3 separate regions of the Homo sapiens genome follow, and regions 1 and 3 are each linked to region 2. The links are contacts of gene promoters, found by promoter capture Hi-C in human tissues and cell types (Jung and others, 2019). All regions are on one chromosome and are shown on one strand. Each heading gives the region's core, a stretch centred on a gene start or on the middle of the fragment in contact. The rest is flanking DNA. Distances are from core to core; before and after follow the strand shown. Region 1 overlaps CFAP298-TCP10L (CFAP298-TCP10L readthrough). Region 2 holds the start of OLIG1 (oligodendrocyte transcription factor 1). Region 3 overlaps EPCIP-AS1 (EPCIP antisense RNA 1).

Region 1 (2,964 bases), core at 406-2,905, 470 kb before region 2:
GCATGCTGAGTGCCTGGCGGCATCTAGTGGTCACTAGTGGTCACTGCCAGTCATCAGCTTTCCTCCAATAAACCAGTTATCATGAGAATATAAAACAATCAGGAAGAAAAAAAAGTGTAGCTTTTTTTTTTTTTTTTTTTTTTTTTGAGACAAGAGTTTCGCTCTGTTGCCCAGGATAGAGTGCAGTGGCAGTGATCTTGGCTCACTGTAAGCTCCACCTCCCGGGTTCACGCCATTCTCCTGCCTCAGCCTCCCGAGTAGCTGGGACTACAGGCGCCTGCCACCATGCCCGGCTAATTTTTTGTATTTTTAGTAGAGACGGGGTTTCACCGTGTTAGCCTGGATGGTCTTGATCTCCTGACCTCGTGATCTGCCTGCCTCGGCCTCCCAAAGTGCTGGGATTACAGGCGTGAGCCACCGCGCCCGGCCAAAAGTTTAGTATTTTATCAAAGAAAACCATGACATACTAAATAGTCCTGAAACAAAAACGATTTACACATTTTCTTCTGACTAGGTATTTATTAAGTTCTAAAACCTTGAATAACTGCTATTTTAAAAATTCACACTAAAAGAAAACTAGAAATGTTAACATCTTTTACAGAGGGCAGTAAGTGGCCTTTTTTTTTTTTTTAAATTATAATTGCCTAGGAGAAAGGTGAGCTAATCTCTTTGGAAGTGTCATCAGCTGGTGAACTTCATCTTGGTCTCCACTTTATGTCTTTCACTCCATGAAAATGTCTTTTCAAAGCAGTGTTATCCGCCCATGGTGAGTTTAAATAGGCATCATCATCATTTTCTTCCAATCTCTGGAAATAAGTATGTTTTATTCAGGCAGGCATTTCAGGAAAGTGTTTTGCACATAAAGAGACTGAAGAAAGAGTCCATGACTGACCTCCCCCTCTCCCTGCCCTCTAGGAGCAGGATACTGCCATGTCTAACACCAGGGGACACCTGGCAGGACCCCGACAGACCTGCAGACAGAAGCTCTAGAAAGACCCCTCCCCGGCATTCTGCAGAGCTCACTGCTCCCCAGCAGCCCCAGGTAAGGCACACAGGCTATGTGTGGGCGCCAGCACTGCAGAAAGCCCATCTGTCCCCTGCTACCTTGAGCTCCTCTTGTCTTCTGTGATAGTACAGCATCAGCTGCTTCTGCTCCTCACTGCTAATAATAGGCTCTCGGGCTGGAGCTCCCTGTCCCCTCTGCAAAGAGGAGAGCAGAGCAAATTGTGGATTAAGGTGTTCTTAGAGTGACAATCCTGAAGTTACAACAAATGTTTTACGATTGCCTTTGCCGGCTACTAAAGATAAACAGGTCCCCCATGTCTGATCACCCGAAGTGAAGCATCAAGGGAAGCCTTGGTCTTGAGCAGCCCTGAGCCCTGGACTCTCACTGTGTGGAGACCAGAGGCTGCACGATACCATCTCTGTCTTGACCATTCCCAAGGCAGACACTGCAGGCAGGTCCAGTGGGAAAGGGAGGATGCTCAGAGCCACGGACTCTGGATCTACATAAGGTGGAGGGCCCCATTTCCCCAAAATCACAGCCTAGTGACGTAGGAGCACCCACAAAACCAAGGCGGCCCCTCAGGTTACAGCGCTACACGATGTCCTTCAAAGGTCTCGAACCTTTCCTCCTCCCCCTCCTGTACACAGCATCAGCAGTTTGAAAAAGCCTGAAATCAGTGACGGGCGAAATTTTACATTTCAAGGAACATATCTGTTTACTTGCAGCCCTATTTTTACGCTTGAAATTAACATAGTATATTTCCTCTCCCCCACATATTAAAACAAACTCTAGATATTGGTACTCAATCCATATTTTCTTCCAGTTTTTGTTGGTGTGCAGGAAGAGGATATTTTTAGTTTAAACCCGAGCCAATAAGATTAAAATATTTGTACCAGTAGTTTAAATCTTTCGGATTCACTGTACATTTTTATCAGTTTGAAGGGAAATAACAAAAACTACTGACACATTAAAGCAAAAAGTACTTACTTGCTGAATCTTGGCGATAATTTTGGTTTTTTCATTCTTCCCCACGTAGTCTGAAAGCTTCTTCGTTCTTCTCAGCTCCTTGGCTGCCCACCACAGCTGCGCCTCTGCCTCTTTAATGACGTTGAGCCCTGCCTGGGGCCAGTCGTAAGAATGGCTTGACTGTGTGTTCCCACCCAGGGGGCAGAGCCCAGCTGAGCCCCTCCCAGCAGGGGGCAGGGGACAGATTTCTCCCCGTGCTCACCATGGGAGGCCTGACTCCCGCACCTCACTCTAAGTCCTTGCTGACTTTAGTACCTTCCCTGTTAAGTTTCCACTCATGCCCTGACTCAGTTAACTTCCTCCTCTGGACAACAGGGAGATCCTATCTCATTTGCACCTTGATCCATATAGTTCGTCTTAGACAGATCTGTAGGCCACTGCCAGGGAAGGGCACTGGCATCGTGCTGGGTGTTTAAATCGAGGTATAAAGGGGCTGCCTGTTTACTTCTGCATATTTCATTTATTTAACATGGCTTAGACAAAGAATATTGTCCAATAGGATAAGAAGTGAGAAAACCCAAGGAAAATGGAACATGAGGGTCAGAAAATAACATGAAGCAACAGGTAAGACTAGAAACACAAATTTCCATGCAAAGGGACTGACGCATTTGGGTAGAAATAGGAAGAAATTAGGTAGCTGGCTTCCTAGCAGCCAAAGACAGTGGAAATGTTTGCAGTCACTCCTGATGAGCGGCCTCACAAACTGCGTCCACTGCCTCCTGTGTGTGGGGCCAAACCCCTCACTCATGAGTACCCACTCTCAGGGGCTGCTCCTGAATTCAGAACTCTGCTCTGAAGCAGGGCATAGCAAACCTGAAAGCTGTGTAGGGAGCAAAACACTACATCCAGAAGAGGGGCATCAAATCTTAAGGGCTTTGGGGGCCAGGAACTCAACCTCCAGAGTACCCACTCACAAACTACGTACCTGTGTT
Region 2 (2,896 bases), core at 336-2,835:
GTGCCAAGCACTGTGCTAGGCTTCAGGAAGATGGAGAAATGAGCAGGTGGTCCCTACCGTAAAACAATCATAGCCAAATGCAGAGATGGTATCTACATAACACAATAGGCTATGAAGAAATCCTATCAATGGTTTGCCAAGAGTCATGAAAGGAGGAAGAGGAGAAATCACCAAGGCTTCCAGAAGAAAGCAAGGTTGGAGCTGAACCTGAGGCATAGGCAGGATGCTACAGGCAGAGCTGGGGGTCAGAAGCAAAGATCAGAGTGAACCCATGTGGCAAATATTGGTGGAAGAAAACCAGAACAAAGCAGCCCTGAAACCAGCAAGCACAGCCACCAAGATGCCCTCTTCCCCAGGACATTGACAAGTTATAGTAGCATGCACTGGTGCTGGGGGCAGAAAATGTCCATAGACACCAAGTAATGCTATTCTATTTGGCAAATAAAATGATTCATTCCCACCCTCAACCGATAGGACTATGTGGGTGTTTTGTTTTGTTTCTAATAAGAGGCCAATTTCTGAGTGACTTTTGCTTAAGCAAATGTCAAGTTGCTGATAGACCATCCCTTTCGGGGAGGATAGAAACCCGACCCAAAGGCTCCTTTGTCCCTAAAGACCTTTCAATCAGAGGGATGGGGAAGGAGGTTGGGAGCAGCAGGGAGGAAATATCCTAATGCTACTTGTCATTTAGTCCAGAAATTTAGCGACCTGAACCTGGCAGGAAATTATGTATTTTAAGAAAAAAAAAACATGATACACTCATGTTCATAGCAGCATAATTCGCAACAACCAAAAGCACCCCAAATGTCCATCAACGAATGAATGGATAAACCAAATGTGGTATATCCATATACTGGAATATTATTCAGCCTTGAAAAGGAAGAAACTTTGATACATGCTACAACATGGATAAACCTTGACGACAATATGCTAAGTGAAAGAAGCCAGTCACTAAAAGACAAGTGCTGTATGATTCTACTTATATGAGGGACCTAGAGTAGAACAAATTCATAGAGACAGAACAGAAGAGTGAATTCCAGGAACTTGGGTCGGGGGGAGTGGGGAGTTGTTTAATGGGTGGAGCTTCAGGGTTGCAAGTTGAAAAGAGTTCTGGAGATGGGTTGCACAACAATGTGAATTTAATTTAAATCAATTTAATGTGCACACTAATGCATATAACATTACTGAACAGTACTCTAAACATAAGACGGTAAATTTTATGTTATGAATATGTGATCACAGTTAAAAAAAAATATGAGGGAGGTTGTTTTTGAGTAGACAGTTGCTGGAGGAAGGCACGTGAGTTGCAGCCTGACCAGTGCGACCAGTCCTCCTTCAACAGCCCCGCTTGCCTTGAAAAGGCGCCCTTACTCCGCTCAGGGGGCCTGTCCCGCGCGGCTGGCACAGGCGCTCACAATAACCTCCTAAAGCGGTGCCAGCCGCACCTCCGCGCGGCCCCGGCACAAGCAGCCAATGAACACGCGGCTGCGCCCGGCCTCGCGCCTCCATTGGCTGCGCCCCGCCACCCGCTGCCCCGCAGGTTCCCAAGCCGGGTTTAAAGGGGTAGGGCGCGGGCCAGGGCCCCACCATCGTTTCCCCGCGCGCAGGTCCGCGGGGAGGGGCGGCCTGCCGACCGGCCCACCCCAGGGCGTTCCTGAAGGGCGTCCTCGGCCGCCCCCACCGCCTCCCAGATGTACTATGCGGTTTCCCAGGCGCGCGTGAACGCGGTCCCCGGGACCATGCTGCGGCCACAGCGGCCCGGAGACTTGCAGCTCGGGGCCTCCCTCTACGAGCTGGTGGGCTACAGGCAGCCGCCCTCCTCCTCCTCCTCCTCCACCTCCTCCACCTCCTCCACTTCCTCCTCCTCCACGACGGCCCCCCTCCTCCCCAAGGCTGCGCGCGAGAAGCCGGAGGCGCCGGCCGAGCCTCCAGGCCCCGGGCCCGGGTCAGGCGCGCACCCGGGCGGCAGCGCCCGGCCGGACGCCAAGGAGGAGCAGCAGCAGCAGCTGCGGCGCAAGATCAACAGCCGCGAGCGGAAGCGCATGCAGGACCTGAACCTGGCCATGGACGCCCTGCGCGAGGTCATCCTGCCCTACTCAGCGGCGCACTGCCAGGGCGCGCCCGGCCGCAAGCTCTCCAAGATAGCCACGCTGCTGCTCGCCCGCAACTACATCCTACTGCTGGGCAGCTCGCTGCAGGAGCTGCGCCGCGCGCTGGGCGAGGGCGCCGGGCCCGCCGCGCCGCGCCTGCTGCTGGCCGGGCTGCCCCTGCTCGCCGCCGCGCCCGGCTCCGTGCTGCTGGCGCCCGGCGCCGTAGGACCCCCCGACGCGCTGCGCCCCGCCAAGTACCTGTCGCTGGCGCTGGACGAGCCGCCGTGCGGCCAGTTCGCTCTCCCCGGCGGCGGCGCAGGCGGCCCCGGCCTCTGCACCTGCGCCGTGTGCAAGTTCCCGCACCTGGTCCCGGCCAGCCTGGGCCTGGCCGCCGTGCAGGCGCAATTCTCCAAGTGAGGGCGGGCCTGGGCCTGGGGCGCGACCTCGGCCCGGCCTCCCTTCGCTCAGCTTCTCCGCGCCCCTGCTCCCTGCGTCTGGGAGAGCGAGGCCGAGCAAGGAAAGCATTTCGAACCTTCCAGTCCAGAGGAAGGGACTGTCGGGCACCCCCTTCCCCGCCCCCACCCCTGGGACGTTAAAGTGACCAGAGCGGATGTTCGATGGCGCCTCGGGGCAGTTTGGGGTTCTGGGTCGGTTCCAGCGGCTTTAGGCAGAAAGTGCTCGCTCTCACCCAGCACATCTCTCTCCTTGTCCCTGGAGTTGCGCGCTTCGCGGGGCCGATGTAGAACTTAGGGCGCCTTGCCGTGGTTGGCGCGCCCCGGGTGCAGCGAGAGGCCATCCCCGAGCGC
Region 3 (2,703 bases), core at 81-2,580, 290 kb before region 2:
AAAGCTTTAAAAATGGTGCACCTGTATAGGACACTTACCAGGAATGGAGCTTACAGGACTGGAGGTTGCTCTGGGTGAGTCAGTGAGTGAGTGGTAAGTGAATATGAAGGCCTAGGTTATTACTGTACACTGCTGTAGATTTTATAAACAACTGTACACTTAGGCTACACTAAATGTTTAAACATATTTCTTTCTTCAATAATAAATAGCTTACTATAACTTTTTTACTTTATAAGCTTTCTTATTTTTTAAAACTTTTTTGTTGTTATTGTTTTGTTTTGTTTTTGTTTTTTGAGATGGAGTCTCACTCTGTCACCCAGTCTGGAGTGCAGTGGCGCGATCTCAGCTCACTGCAACCTCCACCTCCCAGGTTCAAGCAATGAGACAGAGTCTCACTCTATCCCCAGGCTGGAGTGCAGTGGCGTGATCTCAGCTCACTGCAACCTCTGCCTCCCAGGTTCAAGCAATCCTCCCACCTCAGCTTCCCAAGTAGCTGGGATTATAAGCGTGCACCACCATGCCCAGTTAATGTTTGTATTTTTAGTAGAGATGATCCGCACACCCCACAAGCTCCTGTGTTGGCCAGGCTGGTCTTGAACTCCTGACCTCAAGTAATCTGCCCACCTCGGCCTCCCAAAGTTCTGGGATTGCAGGCATGAGCCAACGTGCCCAGACATTTTTTAAAACTTCTTGACTTTTTTTTTTTTTTTTTTGAGACAGAGTTTTGCTCTTGTTGCCCAGGCTGGAGTGCAGTAGTGCAACCTCAGCTCACCGCAACCTCTGCATCCAGGGTTCAAGAAGTTCTCCTGCCTCAGCCTCCTGAGTAGCCGGGATTACAGGCATGCACCACCACGCCCAACTAATTTTGTATTTTTAGTAAAGACAAGGTTTCTCCATGTTGGTCAAGGCAGTCGCAAACTCCCGACCTCAGGTCGTCCACCTGCCTCAGCCTCCCAAAGTATTGGGATTACAGGCGTGAGCCATCGTGCCCGGCATAACACTTTGCTTAAAAAAATACACATTTACAGCTGCACAAAAATATCTTCTATTTTTACCATTTTAATTATTTTGTTTTACTTTTTAAACTTTAAAGCTAAGACACAAACACACACATCAGCCTAGGCCTACGCAAGGTCAGGATTATCAGTGTCACTGTCTTCCACTTCCACATCTTGTCCCACTGGAAGGTCTTCAGGAAAAATAACAAACATGGAGCTATCATGTCCTATAAAAACAATATCTTTTTCTGGAATACCTCCTGAAGGACCTGCCTGAGGCTCTTATATACTTAACTTTTTTTTTTGTAAGTAAAAAGAGTGCGCTCTAAAATAACAGTAAAAAGTATAGTATAGGCGTCCCCAACCACCTCCCACCCCTGCAGGAGGCAAGTGGCCAAAGGTAGACATTGTTCTCTCTCTTTTTTTAAGTTTATTTTTAAAATGTTAGAAGCCACAAAGCCAATAAATATGTAAAAAATATTCTATATACATTAGCTGATGTCTTAGTCCATTTGGGCTGCTACAACAAAATACCATTAATTGGGTGACTTATAAACAACAAATTTATTTCTCACAGCTCTGGATGCTGGGAAATCCAAGGTTAAGGCACTGGCAGATTTGTGTTCCGGTGAGGGTCTGCTTCCTGGTTCATAGATGGTACCTTCTAGCTGAGTCCTCACATGGTGGAAGGGAGACAACTGTGGTTTCTTCAGCTTCTTACCAGGGCACTAATCCCATTCATAAGGGCTCCACCTTTGTGACCTAGTCACATTCCAGCATCTCTACCTCCTCTGCTATCACACTGGGGATTAGTGTTTCAATATATACATTTGGGGGGAAGATAAATAGCTGGGCCTTAACAACTGATGAGGCCTCACTAAATATGCGAGAAATAAGATAAAGCAGGGGTCCCCAACCTCCAGGCCACAGACTGGTACCAGTCAGTGGCCTGTTAGGAACCGAGCTGCACAAGAGGAGGTGAGCGGCGGGTGAGCAAACAAAGCTTCATCTGTATTTGCAGCCACTCTGCATCACTCGCATTACCACCTGAGCTCTGTCTCCTGTCAGATCTGCAGCAGCATTGGATTCTTACAGGAACACGAACCCTATTGTGAACTCTGCACATGAGGGATCTAGCTTGTGCACTCCTTATGAGAATCTAATGCCTGATGACCTGTCACTGTCTCCCATCACCCCCAGATGGGACCATCTGGTTGCAGGAAAACAAGCTGAGGGCTCCAACTGATTCTACATTATGGTGAATTGTATAATTATTTCATTATATATTACAATGTAATTGTAATAGAAATAAAGTACACAGTAAATGTAATGCATTTGAATCATCCTCAAACCATCCTCCACCCCCTAGTTCATGGAAAAATTGTCTTCTATGAAACCAGTCCCTGGTGTCAAAAAGGTTGGGGACTACTGGTATAGCAAATACATAAACCAGTAACATAGTCATTTATTATCATTATGGAGTTTTATGTGGTATATGTAATTGTATGTGCTATACTTTTATACCACTGAAACAGAGGTTTCTTAATACCAGCATCACCACACACATGAGTAATGTATTGTGCTACAGTATTATGATTGCTATGATGTCACTAGATGATAGGAATTTTTCAGCTCCATTGCAATCTTTTTTTTTTTTTTTTTTTGAAACAGAGTGTAGCTCTGTTGCCCAGGCTAGAGTGCAGTG

The links. Contacts are between HindIII fragments. The study calls those that stand out against the background at their distance.
Region 1: a fragment that was not itself captured here is called in contact with the fragment with the promoter of OLIG1 in region 2 in 1 of the 25 tissues and cell types used here (lymphoblastoid cells).
Region 3: a fragment that was not itself captured here is called in contact with the fragment with the promoter of OLIG1 in region 2 in 2 of the 25 tissues and cell types used here (dorsolateral prefrontal cortex and heart right ventricle).

Annotation. Positions count from the first base shown.
Region 1 is chr21:32,601,168-32,604,131 of GRCh38, forward strand. CFAP298-TCP10L (CFAP298-TCP10L readthrough) reads right to left here. Exons shown (of 12, transcript NR_146639.2): 4 at 2,958-2,964; 5 at 1,994-2,125. CFAP298 (cilia and flagella associated protein 298) reads right to left here. Exons shown (of 7, transcript NM_021254.4): 4 at 2,958-2,964; 5 at 1,994-2,125; 6 at 1,105-1,200; 7 at 1-806. The coding sequence ends at 696. Among named protein-coding and RNA genes, the nearest start is that of CFAP298, 9.7 kb to the right of the region's middle. The HindIII fragment of the contact is 3,171 bases long and covers 71-2,964 here.
Region 2 is chr21:33,068,556-33,071,451 of GRCh38, forward strand. OLIG1 (oligodendrocyte transcription factor 1) reads left to right here and starts at 1,586. Exons shown (of 1, transcript NM_138983.3): 1 at 1,586-2,896. The coding sequence starts at 1,692. The coding sequence ends at 2,507. The HindIII fragment of the contact is 10,124 bases long and covers 1-2,896 here.
Region 3 is chr21:32,774,920-32,777,622 of GRCh38, forward strand. The region is part of intron 1 of EPCIP-AS1 (EPCIP antisense RNA 1); the gene reads left to right. Among named protein-coding and RNA genes, the nearest start is that of EPCIP-AS1, 4.2 kb to the left of the region's middle. The HindIII fragment of the contact is 6,384 bases long and covers 1-2,703 here.